Linked DNA regions of Homo sapiens: all the other regions are linked to region 1. The links are contacts of gene promoters, found by promoter capture Hi-C in human tissues and cell types (Jung and others, 2019). All regions are on one chromosome and are shown on one strand. The core of a region is centred on a gene start or on the middle of the fragment in contact, and the rest is flanking DNA. Distances in the headings are between cores, read along the strand shown. Region 1 has its middle 61 kb from the start of C1QTNF3-AMACR. Region 2 holds the start of C1QTNF3 (C1q and TNF related 3). Region 3 holds the start of SLC45A2 (solute carrier family 45 member 2). Region 4 holds the start of AMACR (alpha-methylacyl-CoA racemase).

What was found. Contacts are between HindIII fragments. The study calls those that stand out against the background at their distance.
Region 2: a contact is called between the fragment with the promoter of C1QTNF3 here and a fragment that was not itself captured in region 1, in 2 of the 25 tissues and cell types used here (hippocampus and mesenchymal stem cells).
Region 3: the fragment with the promoter of SLC45A2 here is called in contact with a fragment that was not itself captured in region 1 in 1 of the 25 tissues and cell types used here (hippocampus).
Region 4: a contact is called between the fragment with the promoter of AMACR here and a fragment that was not itself captured in region 1, in 1 of the 25 tissues and cell types used here (bladder).

The regions. Positions count from the first base shown.
Region 1 is chr5:34,182,174-34,189,155 of GRCh38, forward strand. It overlaps a transcript of C1QTNF3 not described here and the pseudogene GUSBP18. Among named protein-coding and RNA genes, the nearest start is that of C1QTNF3-AMACR, 61 kb to the left of the region's middle. RefSeq lists an enhancer at 465-1,074 and a silencer at 6,199-6,367. The HindIII fragment of the contact is 9,368 bases long and covers 510-6,982 here.
Region 2 is chr5:34,039,772-34,046,254 of GRCh38, forward strand. C1QTNF3 (C1q and TNF related 3) reads right to left here and starts at 3,442. Exons shown (of 6, transcript NM_181435.6): 1 at 3,052-3,442. The coding sequence starts at 3,354. The region is part of intron 1 of C1QTNF3-AMACR (C1QTNF3-AMACR readthrough (NMD candidate)); the gene reads right to left. The HindIII fragment of the contact is 5,092 bases long and covers 999-6,090 here.
Region 3 is chr5:33,979,287-33,986,341 of GRCh38, forward strand. It overlaps SLC45A2 (solute carrier family 45 member 2), which reads right to left and starts at 5,407. Exons shown (of 7, transcript NM_016180.5): 1 at 4,913-5,407; 2 at 2,950-3,126. The coding sequence starts at 5,297. It overlaps AMACR (alpha-methylacyl-CoA racemase), which reads right to left. Exons shown (of 5, transcript NM_014324.6): 5 at 6,879-7,055. The HindIII fragment of the contact is 13,392 bases long and covers 1-7,055 here.
Region 4 is chr5:34,002,490-34,009,738 of GRCh38, forward strand. AMACR (alpha-methylacyl-CoA racemase) reads right to left here and starts at 5,561. Exons shown (of 5, transcript NM_014324.6): 1 at 5,284-5,561; 2 at 3,267-3,410; 3 at 2,085-2,245. The coding sequence starts at 5,530. C1QTNF3-AMACR (C1QTNF3-AMACR readthrough (NMD candidate)) reads right to left here. Exons shown (of 9, transcript NR_037951.1): 7 at 3,267-3,410. RefSeq lists a silencer at 5,698-5,777. The HindIII fragment of the contact is 16,164 bases long and covers 1,893-7,249 here.

The sequences.
Region 1 (6,982 bases), core at 3,944-6,443:
CATGCCCTGCAAATTTTCATATTTCAGTAGAGACGGGGTTTCACCATGTTGGCCAGGCTGGTCTCCAACTCCTGGCCTAAAGTGATCCGCCCGCGTCAGCCTCCCGAAGTGCTGGGATTACAGGCGTGAGCCACCATGCCCGGCCTACAAAAAAAATTTTTTTAATTAGCCAGGCATGGTGGCATGTGCCTGTAGTCCCAGCTACTCAGGAGGCCAAGGGAGGAGGATTGCAGCTCAAAGCTGCAGTGAGCTGTGATCAGGCCATTGCGTTCCAGCCTGGGTGACAGAGTGAGACCATCACAAATAAATAAATAAATAAATAAATAAATAAATAAATAAATAAATAAAAAATCTGGGCCTCCCGCCAAGGGTGGGAAACATCAGAAAGCTCAGAAAAGCTCAGAGGACCACACCTGCCCGTTCACCTGTCCTGGGCTCCTGCTGAAGCCAGGGCTACCAGATGGGAGCTAAAGACCTCCCTTAAGCAAGTCCCAAACCACCATTACCTCCCACGAGTACAGGTAGGCGGGGTGTTCGTGCATCAGGTACGGCCACCAGAGGTTGGCACCCAGCACCTTCAGCTGGCCCTGGGTCCCAGCCTGGTTGTCCACGACTTTGTTGTCTGATTTCAAAAGACACACTTCCAACTTGAACTGGTTACTGCACTTGACGGAGATATGGTAATTCACCAGCCCTGCAGGAGGCAAGAGAGACCAGGGCTTAGGGAGGGACATGACCTGGGTCACACGAACAGGAATGCCCCACAATGACCACTCCCAGGCACTCTCATTTGCTTCTGTTGCTTTTTTTTTTTTTTTTTTTTGAGATAGAATCTCGCTCTGTCACCCAGGCTGGAGTGCAGTGGCATGATCTGGACTCACTGAAACCTCTGCCTCCCAGGTTCAAGTGATTCTCCTGCCTCAGCCTCTGGAATAGCTGGGATTACAGGCACCTGCCACCACATCCAGCTAATTTTTGTATTGTTAGTAGAGACCGGGTTTCACCACATTAGCCAGGATGGTCTTGATCTCCTGACCTCGTGATCCGCCTGCCTCGGCCTCCCAAAGTGCTGGGATTACAGGCTTGAGCCACCGTGCCCGGCCCTGAACCAATGCGCCCGGCCCGCTTTTTTTTAATTTAATTTTTTAATTTTCTTTTTTTTTTTTTTTTTTTTTGAGATGGAGTCTCACTCTGTCACCCAGGCTGGAGTGTAGTGCTGCGATCCTGACTCACTGCAACCTCCACCTCTGGAGTTCAGGTGATTCTCCTGCCTCAGCCTTCCGAGTACCTGGGAATACAGGAATGCACCACCATGCCCGGCGAATTTTTGTATTTTTAGTAGAGACGGAGTTTTGCCATGTTGGCCAGGCTGGTCTCGAACTCCTGATCTCAGGTGACCCACCCGCCTCAGTCTCCCAATAGATTAGATATATTATTAACGAATTGCTTCCTTTAACACGCTATTCATTGAATTTTCCAGTAAACCACAATTACTAATTACTCCTGAAATCAGAAAAGAGGTTAAAAAGATTTTATAACAGTATCTTATGAAATCTACTACTTTCAAGTAATAGTAGTTGAATTACCAAAACCCGTCACTCAAGCCAATGACTACAATTAAGATATCAGTAATATTTCCTAGATAAATAAAGTCAATTAATTATATTTGCATCTGGGAAATAGAGAAAGTACATATAAGCCATGATTTTGAAGTCAAAAGAGAGAGAATATTTGGCAAGGAGGGGTGAGTTATAGTATGTAATTATAACATATAGTAGTTTTTTGTATGCTGGTAACTAATTTTAATTTCCTACATTTTTATGTAGATTTCTGCTATTCTTGTGCTGTTTTCCTAATCACCTTTCTATATGGATGACTACATAAGTCTGAGAATACCAAAAGAGACAGACACAGAACCAATCGGATTCCTTTCTTCTTGAAGCTTCTGCACAGCAGAAGAAACTGTCAACAGAGTGAACAGACAACCTACAGAATAGGAGAAAACTGTTGCAACAATGCATGTGACAAAGATCTAATGTCCAACACTGATAAGGAACTTAAACAAATTTACAAGAAAAAAAAAATCTCATTAGAAAGTGGGCAAAGGACATAAACAGACACTTCAAAAGAAGACACACATGCGGCCAACAAGCATATGAAAAAAAGCCCAATATCGCTGATCATTAGAGAAATGCAAATCAAAACCACAATGGCATACCATCTCACACCAGTCAGAATGGTTATTATTAAAAAGTCAACGCCGGGCATGGTGGCTCACGCCTATAATCCCAGCACTTCAGGAGGCCAAGGCAGGCAGATCGCATGAGGTCAGGAGTTCCAGACCAGCCTGCACAACCTGGCGAAACCCCGTCTCTACTAAAAATACAAAAATTAGCCCAGCGTGGTGGCGGGCGCCTGTAATCCCAGCTACTCAGGATGCTGAGGCAGGAGAATCGCTTGAACCCGGGAGGCAGAGGTTGTAGTGAGCCGCGATCATGCCACTGCACTCTCCAGCTTAGGTGACAGAGCGAGACTCTGTCTCAAAAAAAAAAAAAAAAAAAAAATTTGAATTTTGTTTAAATCACTAACACATACTGGGCATTTAATAACAAAAAAAAGGACATGAGATTGTGATCCTTAGGAGGGTTTGAGAGGCATTTCACTAGGGTTCAACATAGAGCAGTCTGAAACATACTGTAATAATTTAATCCAATGGCTCATCTACAGCACCTAAAAAGATTACAGCAGATTCTCATTATTCAGTGTAGTTACGGTCTAGAAAGTTCCATGAACAAATAAAAAGTTAGGTTTCAGCAAGCTACTGGTCACATTTTTGTAAGCTTACCAACACCTACTTTTGTTGTATGTGTGCTTATTTAATATATATTGTTGGCCAGGCACAGTGGCTAATGCCTGTAATCCCAGCACTTTGGGAAGCCAAGGCGGGCAGATCATTTGAGGTCTGGAGTTCGAGACCAGCCTGGCCAACGTGGTGAAACCCCGTCTCTACTAAAACTACAAAAAATATATATATATATTAGCCAGGCATGGTGGCGCATGCCTGTAGTCTTAGCTACTTGGGAGGCTAAGGCAGGGGAATCGCTTGAACCCAGGAGGCAGAGGTTGCAGTGAGCCAAGACTGCACCACTGCACTCCAGCCTGAGCAACAGAGTGAGACTCTATCTCAAAAAAAATAATAATAATTAATTAAATGAAGAATAAATAAATAATATACATTGTTCATTCATTAACATTGAACTCACAGCCAATGGCACTACAGCACTCACGCCTGAATGGAGTTTATTCAATGCATGTATTTCCTCTGTAAGACACATCACAGACTTCTTGGACTTGTGAATGCTAAGCAGCACTTCAGCACTATGCTTGGGGGTTAATTTAAATGGCAAAACAACCAACAAACAATACAAAAACAGGAAAAGCATGGCATTAAATAGACCACAAAAAGGATACCTGACTATTGTATGAGAGCTGAAAAAGAAGGCAGAATATCATCCTGTTCAAACTCAAATTCTTTTGACACTCTGCGCAAACACATGACTATGAAAGGCTGTGAGTACTGATTTGGGGGTTACAAAAAATAGTAGGTGAGTTCACAAATACAAAAGCTGAAAACAAGGAGGATAGACTGTATTTTCGTAGACAATCTAATCTCAGAAGATTTCAATTCAGACAAAAATCATGAGAATTACTGTATTACAAAAGGGCACTAGATAGGGGAAAAAGAGTAAAAATCACAATTAAAACAAAGGTTCAAAATTCTGCAGCAACCATATCCAGTTACACTTTAATATGTTTGTGGCAGACTACATTATTGTTCCCAACTCATCACCCCTCCCTATATCTAAAACCTTTCCCCAAGACAATGCAGTTCCTCCTGCTAGAGATCAGGTATATTTATCTATACTATCAATGTTAGCCATGGACAAGGTATGTGCTTTGGCTGACTGAATGTTAGTGGACATGATAGAAGCAATGGCTTAAAATGTACTTCCAGAACTGGAGTTTCCTTGTGATTCTATCACTGTGACAAAAACACATTCTCAGGTAGTCCACTGATCCAAGGGGGAACAAACACACAGAAAACATACCTAGACTCTATCTGCAGCTCGCAGCCTCACCAAGCCAGGAACAGTCAACTCACAGATATGTTAGCAAAAATAAATGTTTTTCGTACCTTAAGTTTTATATAATTATTGACCTATAGTTAACTGATATACAATATACATTAATCTTAAAATATCATTATCCCATTAAAAATATTTACATTAAAAACTGAGACCACTTTCTTTCCTCCTTTTTTTTTTTTTTTTTTTTTTTAAAATTAAGAGACAGGGTGTCTCAATGTTGCCCAAGCTGGAGTTCAGTGGCTAGTGGCTATTCACAAGAACGATCATCGCACACTACCTCAAACTCCTGGGATCAAGCAATCCTCCTGCCTCAGCTTTCCAAGTCGCTGGGACTATAAGTGTGTACCACAGCATGTCAGCTCTCTCTCTCCTTCTTGACCTAAAGCCTAGCATAAAATTAGCTAAGTAGAATGTTTCCAAAGATGCCTGCATCAGTATCTCCCATCCCACATAATTTCTGTTTGATTTTGCCATTCACCCATAAAATGGTGGGATCTACCTCCCCTCCTTGCAAATTTGAGCTGGCCCTCTGATCCTGTCTAAGATCTGAAGCCAGATATTAAGGTACTTCATTAATTTCCATGTTTGTCCTCTATGCAACCTAGCAATCAAGCCAGAAGTCAAAACATACTGACATAGTTTGGATGGGTCCCCACCCAAATCTCACCTTGCATTGGAATAATTCCCACGTGTCAAGGGTGGGGCCAGGTGCAGATAACTGAATCATGGGGATGGTTCCCCCCATACTGTTCTCGTGGTAGTGACTAAGTCTCATGAGATCTGATGGTTTTATAAATGGGAGCTCCCCTGCACATGCTCTCTCCTGCCTTGCCACTATGTGAGACATGCTTTTGCACCTCCTTGCCTTCCACCATGATTGTGAGGCCTCCCCAGCCATGCAGAACTGTGAGTCAATTCAACCTCTTTCCTTTATAAATTACCCAGTCTCAGGTATGTCTTTATTTGCAGTGTGAGAACAGACTAATACAATAAGTTGATACCAGTAGAGTGGGCTGCTGCTGTAAAGATACCCGAAAATGTGGAAGCAACTTTGGAAATGGGTAACAGGGAGAGGCTGGAACAGTTTGGAAGGCTCAGAAGAGGATAGGAAAATGTGGGAAAGTTTGGAACTTCCTAGAGACTTGTTGAATGGCTTTGACCAAAATGTTAATAGTGATATGGACAATAAGGTCCAGGCGGAGGTGGTCTCAGAGGGAGATGAGGAATTTGTTGGGAAATGGAGTAAAGTCACTCTTACTATGCAAAGACACTGCAGGCACTGTGCACCTGTATTAGAAACGGGCATAAGATAGGCGGGAAAGAGTCAAAATAAGAATTTTTTTCTAGAGTTCCCTAGAGATCTGTGGAACTTTGAACTTGAGAGAGATGATTTAAGGTATCTGACAGAAGAAATTTCTAAGCAGCAAAGCATTCGAGAAGAAGCAGAGCATAAAAGTTCAGAAAATTTGTAGCCTGATGATGCAACAGAAAAGAAAAATCTATTTTCTCAGGAGACTGGGTTGTAGAAATTTGCATAAGTAATGAGGAGCCAAATGTTAATCACCAAGACAATGGGGCAAATGTCTCCAGGGCATGTTAGAGACCCTCACAGCAGACCCTCCCATCACAGGCCAGGAGGCTTAGAAGGAAAAATGCTCTTGTGAGTCCAGAACCCCCTGCTGTGTGCAGCCTAGGAACCTGGTGCCCTGCATCCCAGCTGCTCCTGCCACAGGTAAAAGGGGCCAAGGTACACCTCAGGCCATGGCTTCAGAGGGTGCAAGTTCCAAGCCTTTCAGGTTCTAGGTGGTGTTAAGCCTGCAGATGCACCGAAGAATTAACGTTCATGAACCTCCGCCTAGATTTCAGAAGATGTATGAAAATGCCTGGAAATCCAGGCAAGTTTGCTGTGCACGGGAGCGGGGGGCCCTCATGGATAACCTCTGCTAGGGCAGTGTCAAAGGGAAATATGGGGTTGGAGCCCCCACACAGAGTCCCCACTGGGGTACTGCCAAGCAGAGCTGTCACAAAGGGGCCACCATCCTCCAGACCCCGGAATGGTAGATCCACTGACAGCTTGCACTGTGTGCCTGGAAAAGCTGCAGACACTCAATGCAGCCAGAAGGGGGGGCCGTACCCTGCAAAGCCACAGGGGCGGGGCTGCCCAAGACCCTGGGAACCCACTTCTTGCATCACCTAGATGTGACACATGGAGTCAAAGGAGGTCATTTTGGAGCTCTAAGATTTGCCTGCTGGGTTTTGGACTTGCATGGGGCCTGTAGCTCTTTCGCTTTGGCCAATTTCTCCCATTTGAAACGAGTGTATTTACCCAATGCCTGTATCCCTGTGTATCTAGAAAATAACTAACTTGCTTTTGGTTTTACAGGCTCACAGGTGGAAGGGACTTGCCTTGTCTCAGATGAGACTTTGGACTATGGAATTTTGAGTTAATGCTGAAATAAGAGTTTGGGGGACTTAGGGGAAGGCACGATTGCTTTTGAAATATGAGGACATGAGATTTGGGAGGGGCCGGGGAAGAATTATATGGTTTGGCTCTGTCCCCACCCAAATCTCATCTTGAATTGTAACAATTCCCATGTGTCAAGGGTGGGGCCAGGTGGAGATAACTGAATCATGGAGGCAGTTTCCCCCATGCTGTTCTCATGGTAGTGAATAAGTCTCATGAGGTCTGATGGTTTTATAAATGGATGTTCCCCTGCACATGCTCTCTCCTGCCCACCATGTCTGACTAAATTTTGTATTTTTACTAGAGACGGGGTTTCACTATGTTGGCCAGGCTGGCCTCCAACTCCTGATCTCGTGATCCGTCCACCCCG
Region 2 (6,483 bases), core at 2,192-4,691, 140 kb before region 1:
TAAAGTATTTTCCAAAGCCTCAAATAATAATTTAGAAACATTTTGTTTTTAGTATCTAGGCACAAGAATTCAGCTCCAGGAGATGAAGTTGCTCAATGCTAGAGCCAACTAGGATTGGAAGTGCAAGACCAAGCTACTTGAGGGCACTTTGAGGGCACAGAGCTGCCACCAGAACAGTGAGAGACTTCTGGTTACTACTAGTCGAGCACCTCGTGAGAACCCTTCAGCAGCATTGCATTACACGTTCCTTCCTCTGGCCTTGTCTTTCAAAGTTCAGTTGAATGGAGCAATGCTTTTGCATTGTTGAGTCTTTTGTTGGAACTCTTAGAACAAGTTGGAAGGGATGTGTTAATTCAGAAGTTTTCTCCTAGGTAAGGGAAAATTACATGTAGGTAGTTGCTATTTATGACCTCCTTGTTTATCATCCCCTTTCCCAAAAGCAGGACAAATTTGTATGCAAAAGGCAGGTAAATTTGCAGCATGCGAGAAAGAGTTTGTCTCTAAGAAATGCTCCATCAATTTTGCAGATGGAGGCCTAGGGGTAGGGATGCAGAACTGAGCTCTACTACTAGTAAGTGACTTCTAGGAAGGAGAGTCATAGCTCCTTTTTTTAAACCTCCTGCCCCAAAAAAAGGGAAAAGAAAGAAGAGGAAGGGAAGTGGGAGGAGGGAGAAATGGGTATCCGGGAGAAGGAGGGGAGATTGACAAAGGTGAATGAAAAAGAGGCTACAGAGAAGAAAATACCAGGAAAAAAGAGCCCAGGTCTGCCCACCCCAGATCTCTGGCCATTGTACTCCACCATGAACCCACAGCTGGAGCATCTTTCCAGACCATATATCTGATTACCTCACTGTCCTGCTATGAACAAACAAAACCTAGCTAGCAAAGCAAAATCTAAGCTCCTAAACCAGCTAGCAGAATCCTTCTTGGCACTAAAGTCGTGTAATGTCCCGTCGTCCCCCCAACCCCCACCCCTGCATCCCCAACCCAGGAGCTTCAGCCACAGCCAACTCCTCACAGGCTTTCCAGTCTCTGTTGCAGCACTTTTTTTTTTTTAATTTGCTGTGGATAGTCATTCTTTTAATACCATCTTTTAAGATCCAGCTCAAAAACTATCAGTACTTTGACACTTTTGCCCAATTGCCTTTCATGTACTGACTTTATTTAACACATGGCATTTAATTAAACTTAATTTAATTAACAAAAATTTATCTCTACTACAGCCCTTCAGGATGGTTTGGACATGGGAGCTCAGGCATATTTATCTTTATATATCCCTGGCCCCCCTTTTAAAGTTTGGTACAAAGTAGAAGCACAAGAAATACACGGGAACTGAATGAATAAGAGGAAAATTGAATTACGATCAAAGAAGAGGGACAGGGGAAGTAGGGAAAGAAGGAAGAACATAGCACAATCCTAAATGCAAACTGTGGTTTCCATAGCCGTTGGTAGAGGAGTTGTAGTGAAAACTTCCAGAATGTCAGTAACTCTAAATATCCTCAATATCTCCTGTTGGTGGTTTGTTTGAAAATACTTCAGGAACCTAGAAGGTAGAGTGAAGGAGAAATGTGATTTGAATTTCAGTGGCCTGCTGGGTGTTGGTTGTCAGGACATAATGACCAAAGACAACCTTTAACTTCCTTCTGCTTCCTCTGGGGGAATCACACTGTCATGGCCAGGAAAGATACCATCTGTTGGCCAAGAAGGATACCATGTGTGAAATGGAAAGTCCAGATCAAGTCTTGGACACAAGTGAAAATATCTTCACCACAAAACAAAAACAAACAAAAACCCACACACAAATTAGTGCTAATCATTACCCTTTAGCCAAAAGATTATCAGATGAATAGACAATCTCTAAAAGTGGTTTTCAAAAGATAGGATCATATTTAGAGATTATCATTTCTTCCGTGGCTCCTTAAAGAAGCAATTTTCTCTGGATGCATCCCCCACAGAATGGTTTGGGCAACTGCCTTGTGTGGTCAAGTTAGAAGTTCTGGGTTAGTTTCAAATCTGCAATTGATTCTGTGTGTGATCTTGGTCTGACCATATAACCAAACAACCAACCCAAACTTCTGAATCCATGGTAGGAAGGATTTAGATTTCAATTACAAGAAATTCTTCAGGTCCTATTTAATGCATTAAAGTAATCAAATCTTGTAGTAAAAACCTGTATGTTCAAATATCATATAACTCAAAGTAACTCTTCTTGCCCCCTCTGACAGTTTTCAGCATACTAGATGTCTAGAGGGTAATTCAAAATATGTCTCTTCCTGTACTTAATATTTTAAATTACATTGAGTTTCACCAATTTGCAATTCACTATACTGAAATCTTAACTCACTCTCATACTACCAAGAGTTAAAGATATTTCCTTAGAGCTGAATTTATAACCTGAGAAATAGATCAAGTCCTCTGTGATTATCAGGCATCAAATCATGCTATAAGGTATGCATTTCAAACAGTTTATTTTTTATTTAACTCTTTAATTCTTTTTAAAACAGGCTGAACAGAGAGGCTTAACAATCTAGAATGCTATAAATCAAATAAACAAGACTGCCATGAAATGTCACAGTATACTCACAAATCAAAGTAAAAAAACTTTGATTGCTTTTGACAAACTCAAAGGGCAGCTTCTCCCTGCCGGAAGGGATGAAGAAAGCCCAATTCTCTTAAGAACAACAAATGATTGTCTACAGTGACCGATCTGTCTGCATGGGTCAGCACTCCTTTCCGGACCAACAGAGCAAGAAGGAAATCAAGTCCCAGCATAGCAGGAAGCTGGCTGGCCAGGTTCCCCTTTCTGATGGGGTGATGCTACGGCCACTATCCCATCACATCATTGCTGCCTCTGCTGATTTTCTAACAGAGACCGACAGTCTCTCTTGTACCCAAGAGCAATCCAGAAAGAGATTCACAAGCAGCTTAGCGAACTTCTCGAAAGCATTCATTGATTCTAAGAATCTTAGCCAAAAAAAGAACAACAACAAAACAACAACAACAACACTCATTAAGCTTTCACAAAAATCCTTAGAAGAGAATTCTGAGTACCTGGCCCCAGAATGTGGTGATCTGGGCTAGGTCATCTACCTCGGGGTGCGGTAGCTCATCTGGTCTCAGGGATTTTAGGTCTGTAGAAGTGTTATTATCCACAGTCCCAGTTTTAGGATGGCTCCGCTCTCTCACTTTCTCCCTCCTGGAGCCGCTACGGCCAGTCTGCTGGTGGCTTTGCACTATTCTTGCCACCACTTTATTAGTTCTTCCGCTCACCTCCATGTATTCATCTTGACACAGGCAAAAAGGGAGGAAAAACAAAGCCAGCAGTTGCCAATAGATGAGCTGCCTCCAAAGCATGATTCTCAACAGAGCCTCAGAGTCTCCCTGAGAAGACAGCAGAGCTCCAGGAGCGTGGTCTCCTCGGGCAGATGCCAGGACTGGAGCTGAGAGCTGCAGCGGCGGAGTGGTTTTATACTTTGGTGTGTAATAAATAAGGCTGTAGGCATGCCAGAGTGACAGCAGCCCTCCTCCCCAGGCAGAACAGCCCCCATTCATCATTTTCCCACACCACAAGCAAGAACGATTTGTGTGCACAGTTCCCAGTTGGCGAAATTCATAAATGTCACACCTTGGCACGTTTCTGTTGAAGTGTGAAGAAAACATACACAACCAGCTGGGAACAGAGAGCATGTGTCCAGCAGTTTGCTTTTGTGATTAGACATGGAAAGGCTGTGTATTTGCAGTCTAAAAAGCCTTTTGGAAAAATCTACCCTTGTGCTTGCCAGGAAATTCAGGCTTAACTGCATCAGTTTTGTCTGAAATAGCAGTGGGAACCCATTCAGGGCTTTCACGACAGCTCTTGGTTTCTAGCTGTACTGTTAGTATTTCCCCACTTTGGCCCACTTAAGGTAACTCATTTCCCCTTCCGGATACCAGTGGCAGAAGGCAGTTGGTTGCCTACAAAACACTGAGCAGGATTCAGGTGCAGTGTCTCTGGGTTTAGCAAAGGTATTTCGCCACCCTCAGCTTTACTTCTTTTCCCCATGACTTCCCAAAAGCCAAAATTAAATCAAAGTTAACTAAGTCACTTATTGTCAGATGAAGATACAACACCCTGCTTTGTGTTAAGAGAAGGCTGTCTCTGGCTCCTCTTTCTTTTGACATATTCTTGATTAAAATAGAAACGGGGCCGGGCACAGTGGCTCATGCCTGTAATCCCAGCACCTTGAGAGCCCAAGACAGGTAGATCCCTTGAGCCCAGAAATTCGAGGCCAGCCTGGGCAACTTAGTGAGACCCTGTCTCTACTTAAAAAATAAATAAATAACAAAACTGAAGAAGTGGAAAGCACCAAACACGTTATTTCAAACACAGCGTATCCAGATTAAGAGGATTCTCATGTCTTTGCTTTAGTTGCTATACTTTTATTAATTCAGCCAAAAAGAAAATGGACATTCCTAATTGCTTCAGGATAATAAATTAAGAGAATTTAAACAGTTTTGTCATCAAAAATTGCTTCTATTTACATATGATTTTATTTATATTACTCATTCACTCGCTTAAGAAAATGTTACTGGCCTTCTCTCATGAAAACTGGAGAGACCCAGGACCGTAAATAGCATGGGTGGCAAGCGTCTGATGAGAAGGGGGCGAGGAGGCACTGTGGGAAACTGAGGCTTGGAGAAGCTCAGCCTGCTGATGAAGAGTCAGAGCAGCTGGGGAAAGGGGAGAGGAGAGAGAGCTGTTGACAGCTGCCCCCATTGCTCAGCCAAGGGCCTGAGAACCAAGAGCCATCTCTGGAAGTGGCCAGAACTGTCAAAACTAGCCTGGCCCCTCCTGCAGCTACCAGAACAGCCGCTTCCAGAGTCCACACTTATACATGGAAAGGGTTTGGTGCTGGGGACGGAGGGAGAGAGTTACTCTGTGAACTAAAAGCTCTCCAGGCCACAGTTCAGGGGCCTTGGGAGTCATGTTCAGTCCAAGCAGTCAGTTCCCACCTAGTAGGGCATAAAAATTCAGCCATCTCTGTGCTACAAGTCTACCCTTGAGCATCTAAACCTTCCTCACTGGAGGATTCCTTGAGTTCTGTCATGTCCACCATTAAAAGGTAGATGTCCCTGGGAAGGGAAGTGTGTCAAACTGTTATTCTTAGTAACTGAGGATTTTCTTCCCAGACCTGGAGCTGGAGCTGGGGAAAGGATGGCGCCTGTGTTTGGAGGGTGAGCAAGTGGATGGGCTTTTGCTGTGGGAAGGAAAGCCCAGAGCAGTGTCTCAGTGGGGGTGTTCCCTCCTCAGGGAGGCCCAGAGAAAATGTCACAGGGAGACCACAAAGCAAGCAGTGGCTCTGAAATCTAGGTCACCCAATTCACAGGTTTTCCAAGAGCTGTCTCTGGCTCTCACCATCATGCATCCCCCACGAAGTGGGCCATACTGCTAAGTAACTATAAATCAGCCTCTGACTTTCTACCGCATTGAGACTTTCCATTCGTGTTTTCAATCCTGTCATCTATTCTAGTGGTTCTCAACCCTGGCTGCATATTAAACCAAGGAGCTTCTAAAAATATTAATGCCTGGACTCTATCCCAGACCAATTGAGTCAGAATCTGTACTGGGGCCTGGGCAGTTTTTAAAAGCTTCCCTCAGATGATTCTAAGGTGCATCCAGGGTTAGGAATCACTGATCCATCCTCTCATTGACTCAAAAGGAATAAATAATAATATCCATAATTTGTTAAGCACTTACCATGTGCTAGCCAAGTACTACTTTGCTTTATCTCACTGACTTCTGTTGGCAAACCTATGATCCCATCTTATAGATGAGGTGATAGAAGCTTGCAGAGGTAAAGTGACTTGTCTTGTGTTATGCAGCTGGAAAGAACTGGACTCCATCTGTCTTTCCAGAGTGAGTTCTCCTGCCTTGCTATAGAGAAAGATCTACAGAGAAGGATTCTGCAAAGAAGGATCTCTCCTTCTCTCTGCCATTGGCCCATTATTGATCTCTCCCAAGAAATCAATAATGGGTCAATGGCAGAGAGAAGAAGGTCAGTCTGAGAGCTGCCAGGGAGCCTGCCTTCAAGAATTGGGGTCAGAAAGTATTATGGGTTGGATTATGTACCCCCAAAAGAAACTTAAGTCCTAATCCCTAGTACCTGCAAATATGACCTATTTAAAAATAGGGATTGTTAAAGTAAATGAAAATAGACACCAGGCCTGAAGAATCCCTTAGCAGACAAAGCCAATTAGGTTTCATAAGTGGCCTTAACCTTGCTTGGTTTGCAAACATAGGCAAAACTTAACTTCAGCAACTTTTTGTAAATGCCTATATTAAAGAAAAACACAATGTAAGTTAAATGACTCAGAAGCTTTCCAATGGGAGAGACCAAATAAGGCAATTGTACAACTGTAACCAATCAACTATTTTATTTGCTTTATATCTGTGTTTGTCCTGTAGAAGCCTCCCCACCCCTTGTGCTCCCTTGGTAGAGCTCC
Region 3 (7,055 bases), core at 4,157-6,656, 200 kb before region 1:
CCTGATTGGCAATTGGTTGAAAGAGTTATCTATAGACTTGGAAGCAATAGAAGAGAGCGTCTGGGTTAAAATAAGGGGTTGTGGCAACCAAGGTTCTTATTATACAGATGAAGCCTCCATGTAGCAGGCTTCAGAGAGAATAGACTGTAAACGTTTCCTATCAGACTTAAAAAGGTGCCAGATACTTTAGTTAATTCTATCCTAAATCAGGAAAATAACTGGAAAGGGAAGAGTGAGGAGTACAGAAGGTAGATTTTCCCCATAAGAGACAGCTTTTCAGGGCCATTTCAAAATATATCAAATAAATGTATATTGGGGTGAAATACTTCTATTTCTTTCAGGGCCTGCTATGTTATCATGTTAATACCTAATTGCTACAAACAGTCTGTTTTGTCAGTTTTAAAGTCTCTGCTTTAATGTTAATGCTGATCAATTGTGCTTGAATTCCAAAGGGACAGAGGTATAATGAGGCATGTCCAACCACCCATTCCCATCATGGCCTAAACTAGTATTTCAGATTTACTTTAGGATGACCTTGGCCGAGAGGAAGGGTCCTTCAGTTAGCTGGGGGTTAGAATTTTAATTCTGGTTTACAATACTATCATGTATTGGCCTTGGAAAAGTTTCCCTAACACAGAGTTTTGTCTTTTAATGTCAAGGCAGCAAAGCATGGGTCTTTTAGCCACATCTAATACAATTGTAAGCTGGGAAGTGGTGGCCACATTGTCCAATGTCCTGTAGATCAATAAACTCTTAATATCGAGTTCAAAAGCCAGAAAGTCTCCCATGACCTTGTAATTAATTTCAACAAATTATAATAAAACAGAAGGAATTGTCAGATTCAAGTTAGGAAAATGAAGTTGGAATCTATTCAATGAGACTTTCCGGCTATGGACTATGGGCAAGTGACTTAATCACCGAACCCCCCTCCTACTCCAATCAGTGGACTTCAGGTAAATATTTAACAACTGGCTTTCCAAGAAAAAAAAAAAAACCATGATTTATAGCTTTGCCAATTTCTAGAGTTTTAATACTGCCATCATGGCCAGTTTCAAGCCAGCAATATGATGTCAACAAGTTCACTGAATTCCTAAAATTTGACAATTGATTCTCAAGAAGCCAGCATGAGCCAGCTGTAAGCACACCACTGCTTTCAAGGCTCAGCTTCCACATCTGAAAAATGGGAATCACACCACTTCCACATGGCCATTGTCAGGATCGAGATAATGTAAGAGAAAATACCTAATACATGGTTATTATCATACATGGGGTATTTGAGAAATGTTTGTTCAGTATTTACTGAGCACCTACTATGCAGCAGACACTTCCAGGAACTGAAGATTCATCAGAGAACAAAACAACAGGTCTGCTCAGCTGGGATTGATGTTCTAAATGGGAGAGACAACCAGAAAGAAAAAAGAGAAGGAGAGAGAGAGACAGATGATAGATAAATAAATAGCCAGTCAGTTAGTCTGGTATTGATAAGCACTAGAAAGAAAAATCAAACCCAATAAGGATGAGGAGAAAGAGGAGTGGTCATACTATGCCAGGTACGGTAGCCAAGAAAGACCTCACTGATGAGAGATATCTGATGAGAAATCTGAGTGGAATAAAGGCATGACTATGGGATTATATGGGGAAGGGTGTCCCAGGCAGGGCAAGAGCTCATGCCAAACCCTGGGGCAGGTATGATGGGCTGGGCTGACCCCAGAGACAGAAGGACGCCAGCGGGGTGGGAGCACCCGAGTGAGGAGACACACGTGGAAAGTGCAGTGGGAAGGGAAGCCAAGAGCAAAGGTGAGGCAGGGGAAGTCTCAAGCCCTGGCCATGTCTTAGGTGCCTTTAAACACCTGGAGACATAGTGGGCAGGGGCCAGTGACAGACGGGGCTGCACTCCTGCCCCTCTGCCTTCCTTACACAGAGGAGGATCTACCAACTGTGCTCCAACGGCCTCACTCCTTCATGTTTTCAACTATTCAAATGTTTGCTCAAATGACAAATATTGGCTCCAGTGGCTTCCATGGGCAGGCAGCAGTCTTAGCTCTAGAGACAGAAACTATGAGCAAAACTTGAAATCTTGCTTTTCATGGACCTACCTGGCCATGGAAGGAGAGAGAATACATCAAAACATAAATAAAGGCATTGGCTGGGCTACAAAGACAATCAAATAAGGTGGGCTGATAGAGTCCCCCTCTTAGATATAAAAATCCTCTTGGGCCAGGATCCTCCTGTCGCCTTATATTTCAATGCCTAGTTCTAGCATAGTCCTAACTGGTGCTCTGAGTAGCATTGCTCTAAACAATTGACCAACAGTAACCAAAGTAGGCTGGCAACAGTCCCAAGAGATCAAGAGAGCTCCCATTTTCCTCCTGGCATGAACTTTTTCAAACCACAAGGTTGAGGAAATGCCAACCTTTTACATAACTAAGAAATTTCTAAGACGTTGAGTTTTTTGTTTGCTTGGTTTGTTTTCTCTTTTTGTTTTTTAAACCTGCCACAAAATCATCTGGGGTCTTTATTAAATAAAATACAAATGTCTGGGCCCCGCCTTAGACTCACTGAATCAGAATAACTGGAGAAGGAGCCCAGGCAACTGTATTTTCAATGACCTTCTAAGGAATGTGGATGCTACATTGCTGATGCTTGAGATCCTCTGCTCTAATGCAAAAGTACAATCCACAAGGCTTCTTTCCATTTCAGTTGTAATTGTCTCCACAAAGCATTCTTAAGAAAGCTCTTCTGTAAACTTCCTTTGCAGAAACTGCAGCACTAGTCACAAGCTGACTGTTCAGAGAAATGCACGGGGAGACAGTGCCCGCATGACGGGAGCAGCCCATCAGCTGACCCGTTCATTCAAAAAACTCCACGTGTAGAGACACTGGATGGCTTTAGTGGAAGTGCCTCATTGTCTGGGGAGCTGAAGGAGAGACTTTCTGGAATATTCCCTACCTGTGAAGAGGGCATGGTAGTGGAGGCCCTTCTCCTTGTCCTGATGGGAGCAGACATCAAATAAGTAGGCTTTGATGGGCCCATCAATGAAGTCGGCAGCAAAATCAAAGAGAACGACACCTATCATGGTGACACTTATGGCCCAAACCAGCTTCCTCCTTGGGTTAGCAATCAAAGCTAAAAGAAAAATAAACATTGGTCTCCTAAATCCTGTTTTAGAATCATCCGCGTTTTGTAATTTCCACCTAAACTTCTTGCCATAAAATCATCTTCCTTGCTTTTATTTTGCTTTTTTCCAAATAAAAATAGCTTTACATTTTTTTTCAGGTTTTAAAAATTATGCAAGCGAATGTCCAGAAAACACAAATCTATGGAGACACAAAGTAAATTAGTGGTTGCTTAGGGCTGGTGCATAGGGGAAAAGTGGACGTGACTATTGATGGTAATGGGTTTATTTTGGGGGTGATGAAAATGTTGTAGAATTAGAGAGTGGTAATGGTTGCACAACATACTAAAGGCACTGAATTGTACACTTTTAATTAGTGAAATTTCTGGTATGTAAAATATCTCCTTAAATAAAAAAGTATGCATGCTTATCGCAAGCAATTCCAATTCTATTAAAAAAGCTGAGGGAGATGCTTCCAATCCCAGCCCCAGCAAAGGTCAGGCTTTAAGGCCTCCTTTTACGCACTTCTGCACATACAGACACACGTGTACAATGGTAGTCAAACGCAGTGCTTCTCAAAGTCTGGCATATTGAACTATCGCTTGTATGTCTTGTTAAAACACAGATTGCTGGCCCCATTTCCCAAGACTCTGATTCAATTGGTGGGCCTGAAGGGGGCCCGAGAAACTGCATCTCTAACGGTCTCTGCTGATGCTGAGGGGCAGGTCAGAGGCCACATCTTTGAACAGCACTGATGCAGTAACCAACTTTCTTCATATAATTTCAGCTCCTCACAATTTTTAACAGCTGGATTTTCATTCTACGGATACGCTGTAATCGTTTACCCAATCTCCTATAAAAGATACATTGTTGTTTCTCTTGTTTCCATTTGCTTTTTAAACTTAAGAATAGCATAGATTATATACACGTTTTAAAAATTGCAGTATAAAATTAAATGAACAATAAGTCTACCCGCCACTTCTCACCTCCTGTCCTTCAGTAATCCTCCTTAGAGTCAACAATGCTTATCAGCTTTTTGTTCATTCTCCTGGAAATATCCTACATTTGTACATTTACGCTTTCTTTCAAATATGTACAAATGATAATTGATTATCCTGCCTCATAATCACCGATTCTGCTAGCTTGAGAGTTAATGATCTACAAATGTGTGCTATTTTTAGCGATCCTTTTTGCAATGCAACTTTATTGTACTACCATCAATTACTGATTAATTGGTAGCTGATTAATGGCTAGAAAAAATGCCTACCCTCAGGTTTGCTTTTGTCCAGAATTTGCAATGCCAGAAAGGTCCTCTTGAGCTGATGGGCTTATGCCCTACGCCTATTAAAACGCTCTACATAAAACTATGAACAGAATTAACTTATTTGGATACACAGGTGACTTATTGTAAATATTTATGGAGCTATTTGGCAGCCAGTCAATTTGATAAGAGTATTAAATAGAGCATAATGGGCTCAAAAAGTAACTCAATTGATAAATATGTAAAAATATTCAATTCGATAAAATAGATACAAATTTAATAAAATAGATACAAATTTAATCCTATTTTTAAATCTTCACAACAATGAAACATATTTATTTTGATATTTCTAGAAGTAGAGGCTCCCCAACCACAGAATCTGGGCCAAATTTGTCAAAGGGGAAGTTCATTGTAACCTAGGAGAGATCAATTCTAACAAATTTCTAGGAAAGGTCAAACACATGAACATCCTCCTCCTGCAGAGGTACACACTAAGACACATATCCCTGTCTGCCCACCTTGTGCAGCCCACTTACCTGCTACAACAGTAGCCCCATTGAGGTACAGAGCCATGCCCACGAGCATCATGACTCCCAGGGTGAGGATGTAGGGTCTCCGGCGGCCCCACCTGGACCGGCAGTGGTCGCTGGCCGATCCGACCACGGGCTGCAGCAGGAATCCCAGGATGGGGCTGAGGAACCACACAATGCTGTACAGGCTGCTGGGCAGACCTACGCTGAGCAGGACTGGGGTCACATACGCTGCCTCCACCGCGTAGCAGAACTCTCTTCCGAACATGGCCATGCTGTGCATGATGAGTCTGCTGGTGGGTCTTTTAGGCGGCTCCACAGAGTCAAAGGGGCCATCATCAGCTAGGGATTTATAGATGTGGCGGCCAGCCTGCCCACTGTTGCTACCCATGGCCACTGGGAGAGGAACCTTCCTGCGAGCCCACCACCTCCTGCGTGGTCCTAGGGTCTGTGTTTCAAACTGGATTTGACGTGGAGCCTGGCCGAGCAACCAACAGAGATGGTCAGGCTGGGGGAGGGGCTCAAATTCTTTCCTGCCTCTAAGATCACAAGTTATGATGAGAGGGAGGGGGTGGTGCTGGAAAGCATGACAGAGATTAGCAGCTGTGAATCAGCCCTCTGGCTCCATAAGACGTTGGAATACTTTTCTAAAGGGATCCTCCTTTGTACTGTTCCCTCTCTCTTTCTCTCTCTCTCACACACACACACAATTACACGTGATCACACACATGGCTTCTCTCCCTCTCACACACACGTTATTACACGTGATCACACACATGGGCTCTCTCAGACAGTATTACACATGATCACACACATGGTTTCTCTCTCACACACACATGCTATTACACATGATCACACACGTGGCTTCTCTCACACACACATTATTACACATGATCACACACATGGCTTCTCTCACACACACGCTATTAAACGTGATCACACCTGGCTTCTCACACACACATGCTATTACACATGATCACACACGGCTTCTCACACACATGCTATTACACATGATCACACACATGGCTTCTCTCACACACATTACACATGATCACACATGGTTTCTCACATACATGCTATTACACATGATCACACACGGCTTCTCTCATGCATGTTATTACACATGATCATACACATGGCTTCTCACACACATGCTATTACACATGATCACACATGGCTTCTCTCACACACATTACACATGGTCACACATGGCTTCTCTCACATGCGTTATTACACATGATCATACATGGCTTCTCTCTCACATGCTATTACACATGATCACACATGGCTTCTCATGCATTTTATTACACATGACCACACACATGGCTTCTCTCACACACGTTATTACACATGGTCACACATGGCTTCTCTCACGTTATTACACATGATCATACATGGCTTCTCTCACACATTATTACACATGACAGCTTCTCTCTCACACACTATTGCACATGATCACACATGGCTTCTCTCACACACACATGCTATTGCACATGATCACACATGGTTTCTCTCTCACACACGTTATTACACAACGATCACACACGGCTTCTCTCTCATACACATTATTACACATGACCACACACATGGCTTTTCTCTCACACACACTATTACACATGATCACACATGGGGCTTTTCTCGTTATTACACATGATCGGACTCATGGCTTCTCTCACACACACATGCTATTACACATGATTGCACACATAGCTTCTCTCTCACACACGTGTTATTACACATCACACACGGCTTCTCACACACGTTATTTTACACGATCACACACATGGCTTCTCTCACACACGTTATTTTACATGATCACACACATGGCTTCTCTCTCACAGACGTTATTACACATAATTACATATGGCTTCTCTCTCTCATACACACATGCTATTACACATGATCACACACATGGCCGTGAGGTAATAAAGCCTTATTACATAGAGTTTGTCAAAATGTAAATAAATTGATATCTTTTCATAAACTTTTTATAAATATAGACATTCTATTTTTTACTACAAGTTTTCCACACACACAGCTCAGGAGTGAAATAACTAGATTTAAAATGGTGGCAGGTCACACCCTTCTTCAAATCATTAGCTGTGTCAGATCGCCCTGATATTTCTCCTCGTGGTACTTAACACATTTT
Region 4 (7,249 bases), core at 4,311-6,810, 180 kb before region 1:
TCCTTTTGGACCCCAGGGACCATGCTCTTGGGGCAGCAGGGGAAGTTGTTGAAAGCAGTGGCTTTAGGGTCCAACTGCCTGGGGCAGTGCTTCGGACCCTTTCCCGTCATCTGCTTTAGAGGAAGGCAGTTAACCTCGCCAAGCCTTCAAGTCTTCAATGCCAATGATAGTAGCACGTCTCCCTCAGGGAACTGTGTGGATCACAGAAGCCCTGTGGAAGGTACCGGTCTTGAGTTTGGCGGGTACTGGTATAAATCCGGTGCTGCTATCTCATGCAGCGACTATGCCATGAGTACGCCAAGAGCTGGCCCACAAAAGATAAACCACACTCCCCTGCTGCTGGTACACACTTCAGAGAGGGCACACTGGAAAGTGTGAGATGTGCCCTGATGACAGTGTCCCACAGGCACACACTCAGTACAGGGCTGGTCATGATTCACCATGAACAGGAGAAGGAAGCGCAGGCTGAAGCTTTGGAGATGAGGGGGTTTCTGGTAGAAAATGGATTTTGTGAAGATCAGCCAGGACCCAATCCAGTTGACACTCTCAGTCTCTAAACTCTTGAGGTATCCACCAACATTTGACCCTCTGACCACTCCTTTCTTTGGTTTCCATGACAACACTCCATTCTGCTTCTCTCCTTAGCTGTCCTCAGCCCTTGCTTCTCTTTTCTGCCCACGCATTCCTTAAATGCCGGTGTTCTATCCCCTTTCCTAGTGGATCACATAGTCTCATATGGCTCCCAAATAACTCCGAAATCTGTTTCTAGTCCCTAACCTCAAGTATCCCACCTGGATATCTGAAAGGCACTTTAAAACTGAAAAGACCAAAACTGAGTTCCTTTTCTTCTAGTAAAAATAACCACAATGACAAACTTTTACAGAGGGCCCACTGTACGCCAGGCACTGTTCCCACACTGAACAATGGATGAACTCATTGAATTCTCATAGCAACTAACAATGCTATGAGGTGGATGTCATTATTATCTCCATTTTACAAAGGAAACTACAGCACAGAGAGGTTAAGTAACTTGCCCAAGATCACAGAGCTAGTAAATGGCAGAGCTGGGACGGAGGTAGTCAGCTGCCACTCTATGCTCTGACCACTGTGTTCAGCAGTCTTCCCTCAAGACACTAGCAGGTCATCTAAGCCAGAAACCTGGGAGCCAGCCTCAACTTCTCCCTCTTCGCTCCCTGTCAGTCCATTATCAATTCCCAGCAATTTTATACCTCAAATGTCCCTTCAATGCAAACCAACTCTACCATTAACTGCTTTAGTACTTGCCCTGATCTCTTCAGCAATAACCCAGTCATTGGTCTCTGTACCTCCAGTCTTGTCTCCTCAGATCCATTCTCCATCCCACCTCCAAATGTCTGTGAAAATGCAAACACGCAGTGGTGGTGCTGGAGTGGGCTCTCTTACCCACTAGCTGTGAGATCTTGAGCAAATGGCAATGCTTCCGTTCCCTCCTCTTTAAAACAACAAGGTATTCCAAATGCAGTTTTGAGAATAAGAAGAAATCACACAGGGAATGTGCTCAGCAGAACATGAGGCAAGCACTCAGTGGATGACAGTGAACAAACAGAAGTGTTATGATATCAGAGCATCCCCTATAAAACGCAGCAGGAAGGTTTAGACAGGGAGGTCCATTTGACCTTAGCATTCCTAAGAATTTTCTCTACCAGCTGAGGGAGACTTCTTGAACTTTTTTTGAATGACGACTGCTTGAAAATGATATACTAAGCACAAGAGATACTTGGGGAAAATTGTTGAAATATTTAGGTTGGCAAATATTTGGCAAAACCTGCAATTACTTTTGCACCAACCTAAAACAACGTAGGAATCACATGAGTCACAGAAAGTTCAGAGAACTGACTCCAAGGACAGATGATCAAAATATGACATTCTAACAGATATATAAAAGACATAAGTCTATTTTAAAAAGAAAAGGATATCCTTGGTAACCTGGCTTGAAACTTCAAATGTCATTTATCTCTTGTCTTCTTCTTCAAAAAAAGGATTTTAAGCAGCTATATCTTAAACTTAGGGACAAGTGGCAGGCATCTACCCCAATTAATACTTACCATATTTGCATCAATGACCTGACCCTTGCCAGTGCGTGTGCGGTCAAAAAGAGCCATTATAATGCCCAGTGCACACATAAGGCCACCACCAGCAAAGTCAGCCAGGAGATTCAGCGGGGCATACGGATTCTCACCACTTCTGCCAATTTTTGAGAGAACACCTACATCATTAAAAACAAATTTAATGTCTCTTTTAAATTTAATCTCTTCTTAAAATAAATATGTGAGCATCTTAGAGGAATAATCAATCTCTCCAGCAGATAATCTAAGTGAAAGCTAGTATACATCACTTTTCCAAATCTGAGCTTAGTCAGTAAACTCATAAACAGGCTTTCCCTCAAGACAGGATCCTTGTTTTGTTGTTTTCCTCTCTAAAACCTATTCCAACCAACATTTTCAAATATTGCTAAGTTTTTACTCACTTACTTTTGGAAAAGAAAATGATTATTTATTTTGTGGTTTTAAAACAGTAAATGCACTTTCATTCTTAGCATAAAGAAATGTAAGAAAATACTTGCAGACAAGAAAAAAAAGGAATTTAATTTTTAAGTAGATGTGAAGAGACAATTCTATACCCACTTCTTTCCTCAACTTTTAAATGTGTACTCACAGAAAATCTGAAATGTCCTATAGTCAACAACACATGGTTCTTAGAATTCTGGAATCAGGCCTATCTCACATGTCGTCACAGGCAAAAACTCTAATAAAGTGATATTAGGACCTGAAAACCATGGGCTTTTTTTAGTGCTCATAGAAGTCTGAAACAATGACTCAGGCAATGATTCTCAATATGGTGGGTGGAGATTTCGGGGTCCGGGGGAGAAGTAGCTGTCAGAATCTAACTATGTCAACATTTTCAAACCACAGAGCAACCATCCGTAGTACCCAGTAAGCCTCTTAATTCCTAGCAGGGGTTTGTCTGAGAATTGACTCAACAAATGTAGTAAATAAATGATAGTAGTGGGCATGTATTAACCTTCCAACCTGTTAAGGGATGGGGTGAGGGAAGGTTGAGAATGATTGTTTCAAGACTCAAACCGATCCATTTTGAACACCCATGCTCTCTTGATTGATTCTGATAAATGTTTAAATTTTTACCTTTACAAATTATTGTTAATCAACATACCTGTAGATCTTGATGGAATAAATTAAAAGTGTAGACTAAATTTTTTTTCAACATACCTGACAAAGCCAAATAGTTGATATCGTGGCCAGCTAACCGGCAGAAGCTTCCTGACTGGCCAAATCCACTCAGCCTGGCATAAATAAGCCTTGGATTTTCCCGCTGCAGAATCTCTGGGCCCAGCTGGAGTTTCTCCATGACACCTTAAGAGAAAAGTAACGATCTTCTTAAGAGAGTATGAATTGAGGATGGAGATAATCCCTTCTCTGAGACAAACATAAAATAGCACCATTGCAAGTAATATTAATAACATTTGCTGTAGGCTAATGGCATGTTTACAGCAGTTAAGGACTCAAAGAGTGAAGCCACCATTTCTGGAATGTGTGGCTTCTTCCCAGGATGTAATTTCTCCCAGTACATCTCTGTTTCCCTCTAGGTTTATCCAAGCCTATTTATTCAATCCCCAGAGCAGGGTCTCATCCCTTTAGTAAATCCCTTTTCTCTTTTTCTATACCGCATCAGTGTTTACCACATCCCACCTTAGCTGCACTTGCTTGTACATGCATACACTTATCTTCCCTATCAGCTCATGAGCTCCTCCTGCAGAATTTACACCTGATGTTTCCACAGGCGCTAAAGTGCCTAGCATCAGTACCTTCACGAAAAAGTTTAGCACCCATCTGTAGAAAGAGTGGTTAGTGACAATAGCACCTGAGAGTTTTTAAGCTATCAACAAGTATAGTATTTATAGCACAAACCCCAGGTAACCAGCACCTGAAATTTCCTGGGATTAAAAGTAATCAAAATTACATAATAAACTCACTATCTTTACCTTCCTAAGGCTAAAATAAATCACAGAAAACCTCTAGTCATCTACCTAAACACCAGTCACAACTCCTCACCCGGAGGCTATATCCGTATTCCCAGCCGACCTTCCTCCTAATTACAAGACCTTGGACAAGCCTCCCTCATCTTAAATGGAGCATTCTTAAATTATTACATAATCTTAATTATTAAATCATTATTGTTACAAGCCTCAAATACAGCTGTGAGGGTTAAATGAGTTAACGCATTTAAATAAGCCGGCTGTGCCGTAGGCATTCATTCATTCACCATTTACCGATTTCCCACTATAGACCAGGCAATGCTTTGGATTTCTACTTGAACAAAGTTATTCTGGCAGCTGTCTGAGAATCCACTGGAGTGATACCAGCCCCAAACACCAGTTTTTAAAAGGCTGTCACACCAGTGTCAAGGCAGTTGCAGCAGGTATGGAGAGAAATAGTCCGAGTGGGCTAAGGAGCAAAATGACTGTATTGATGATCATTGAAATTGGATGTGAAAGGAAGACTGGAGTCCATGATGAAGTACAAGTTTGAGATTCAGGCATTCACTGAAATAAATAATACAGAAGGTGGAGATGCTGTTTTAGAAGGAAGAAGGAAAGGCTCATTTTGGGATTTGTGGAAGCTGCCTGGCGGGCAGCCTTGACGGCGATGCCCAGGACCTGTGTATGCCAGCGTCTGCCGCTCTGAAAGGGGGAAGTCTACAAAAAGGTGAAAATGATGGGAATGGGTAACTGGGCTTCAGGGAGCAGATGCTGAGACTTAGAACGCCAGCATTTCAGGCAGGGAGGAGCGTTAGCCTGGGCCCGTGGATGGCTTGAGGGTACAGCACTCCAAAACGGTAGCCGAATGACCGCCTATATGCAGTTTTCCAGGAAGGGAATCCTATGGCTTTCATTAGATTCTCACAGGGTTCAAGACCCTCAATTAATTAAGAAAGGCAAATACGGAACGTTTCTTAGAAAAAAAAGGAGGAATTTGGGAAGGAGTCAGAGAGGCAAAAGGAGAAACCGGGCAACAGCAGTATCTCAGAACCCAAGTTTTGGACAATCCAGTTTGGGAAGAATGATCACTAACAATACCCTAGGAGGCAAAAATCTGGAAGGCTGGGGCCGACAAGGGTTCTTGCGGCAACAGGGCAAAGGTGTGGCGGGTGCAGCCTCGATCGAACGGCCAGGCCCCTCCCCTCCGCGGGAACTTCCCGAGAGCAGCCCGCGGGGCCCGGGCTCACCGCGGCGGAAGGGCTCCAGCAGCACATCCGACCGCTTGCACAGACGCCGCAGCACGGCGGCTCCCCGCGGCTGCTTCAGGTCCAGCACTAGCGAGCGCTTGCCCCGGCCCAAGCGGCTCACGTCGTAGCGGGAGCCGGGCCGGTCCACGCGTACCACACGCGCCCCGAAGTCAGCCAGGACCATAGCACAGAACGGGCCCGGGGCCAGGCCGGACAGCTCCACGACCGAGATGCCCTGCAGTGCCATGGCGCTTCCCAGTGCCCCGCTGAAGGAAACTGAGCAGCCCTTAGCCCCAGCCCAGCAGCCTGCAAGAAGCCCTCCCAATCCCCGGCGCCACGCCCCCAGCCGCGGCGCCGCGCCCCAAAGGCACCACCCCCGTCCCTCTTTTGCGGGCCTGCGCAAGCCCGCGGAGTCTGCGCACTGGGCGCTTCCCCACCCCCGGCCTCCCGGGACCGCCAGTGCCAAATGCAGTAGGTTGCTTTCCTTTTTGTGCAACCTAAATTCCTGAGTCTTAAATTGCAGGGACTGACCTTTGGAGCTCCTGCCTGTTACCGTCCTCTCTGGACGCTTTTATTGTACCAGGGCGATCCCCAGCCCAACTGTACCATTCGAGTCCCTACTCCTGCCTTGCTCTAGGGAAATAAAATAACGTAAACACGTAAGAACAATGCGAAAGCGTTTTCTTCCCTAGGCTGCAGATTGTCTTCTTCACCGCCCCTGCTTAGCTAGCTAGCTAGCTGGGAATTTAATCCAGAAACGGCTTGCGATACCTCCTAGATGCACTCGTTTTGAGTTACAAACTCCGCGGATTACATGTCTTTTTAAAAAAGTTTAGACTACACTAGGAAAATTATTTTAGTATCAGAAGAATATCAGGGGTGTAGTACTCATCAGAGCTAAATGAGAGCGCTTTAAAAATGTTAGTTTGTCTTCCGCCATTTCTACAGAAAGCTGCAATTTCAGGTTTTCAACCTAATAGGTGATATTTAAGAAAAAAAAAAAGCAATCGCAAATAGCCCCACTGCTTTTACAAATCATTTTTTCTCTTCTAGGTATAGCCTGTCAGGTGGCCTAATGTAATTTTTGACATCTCTAGGAATTTTAATAGAACCAGAAATGGGTGCCAGAGATATGCCTGCACTAATCTTAAGTGGGGATTTATGTATTTCTCAAGCAAGTGATTAAAGCAAAACTAGGCACGATTGAAATCAAGATCTTTTAGGCAAGAAAGTCATGATGAGTTTTAGAATTATTTTAGGACTCTGTGGCTTTCTCTTCATAGAAATAGAAAAAAAAATTGTATAAAACCACAAAAGGTCCTGAATAGCCAAAGCAACACTGAACAAAAAGAACAAAGCAGGAAGCAACACACTACCAGAATTCAAATTATACTACCAAGGTGTAGTAACCAAAACAGCATTCTATTGGCATAAAATAGACACAAAGACCAATGGAACAGAATAAAGAACCCCAAAATAAATCCATATATTTACAGCCAGCTGATTATCAATAAAAACACCAAGAACATATATTAAGGACATTCTATTCAATAAGTAGTGCTGGAAAAACTGGAAATCCATATGCAGAAGAATGAAACTAGACCCCTATCCCTCACCATACACAAAAATCAACTCAGAATGGATTAAAAAACTTAAGACATACAACCCAAAACTATAAAACTACTATAAGAAAACAGATAAAACACTTCAGGACATTGACCTAGGCACAGATTTTATGACTAAGACTTCAAAAGCATAGGCAACAAAAACAAAAAATAGGCAAATGGGACTATATTAAACTAAAAATCTTCTGCACAACAGAAGAAACAACAGAATAAACAACTTATTGAATAGAAGAAAATATTTTGCAAATTATTCATCCAACAAGTGACTAATATGCAGACTATACAAGAAACTCAAACAACTCAACAGCAAAAAATGAAATAATCTCATTAAAAAGTGGGCA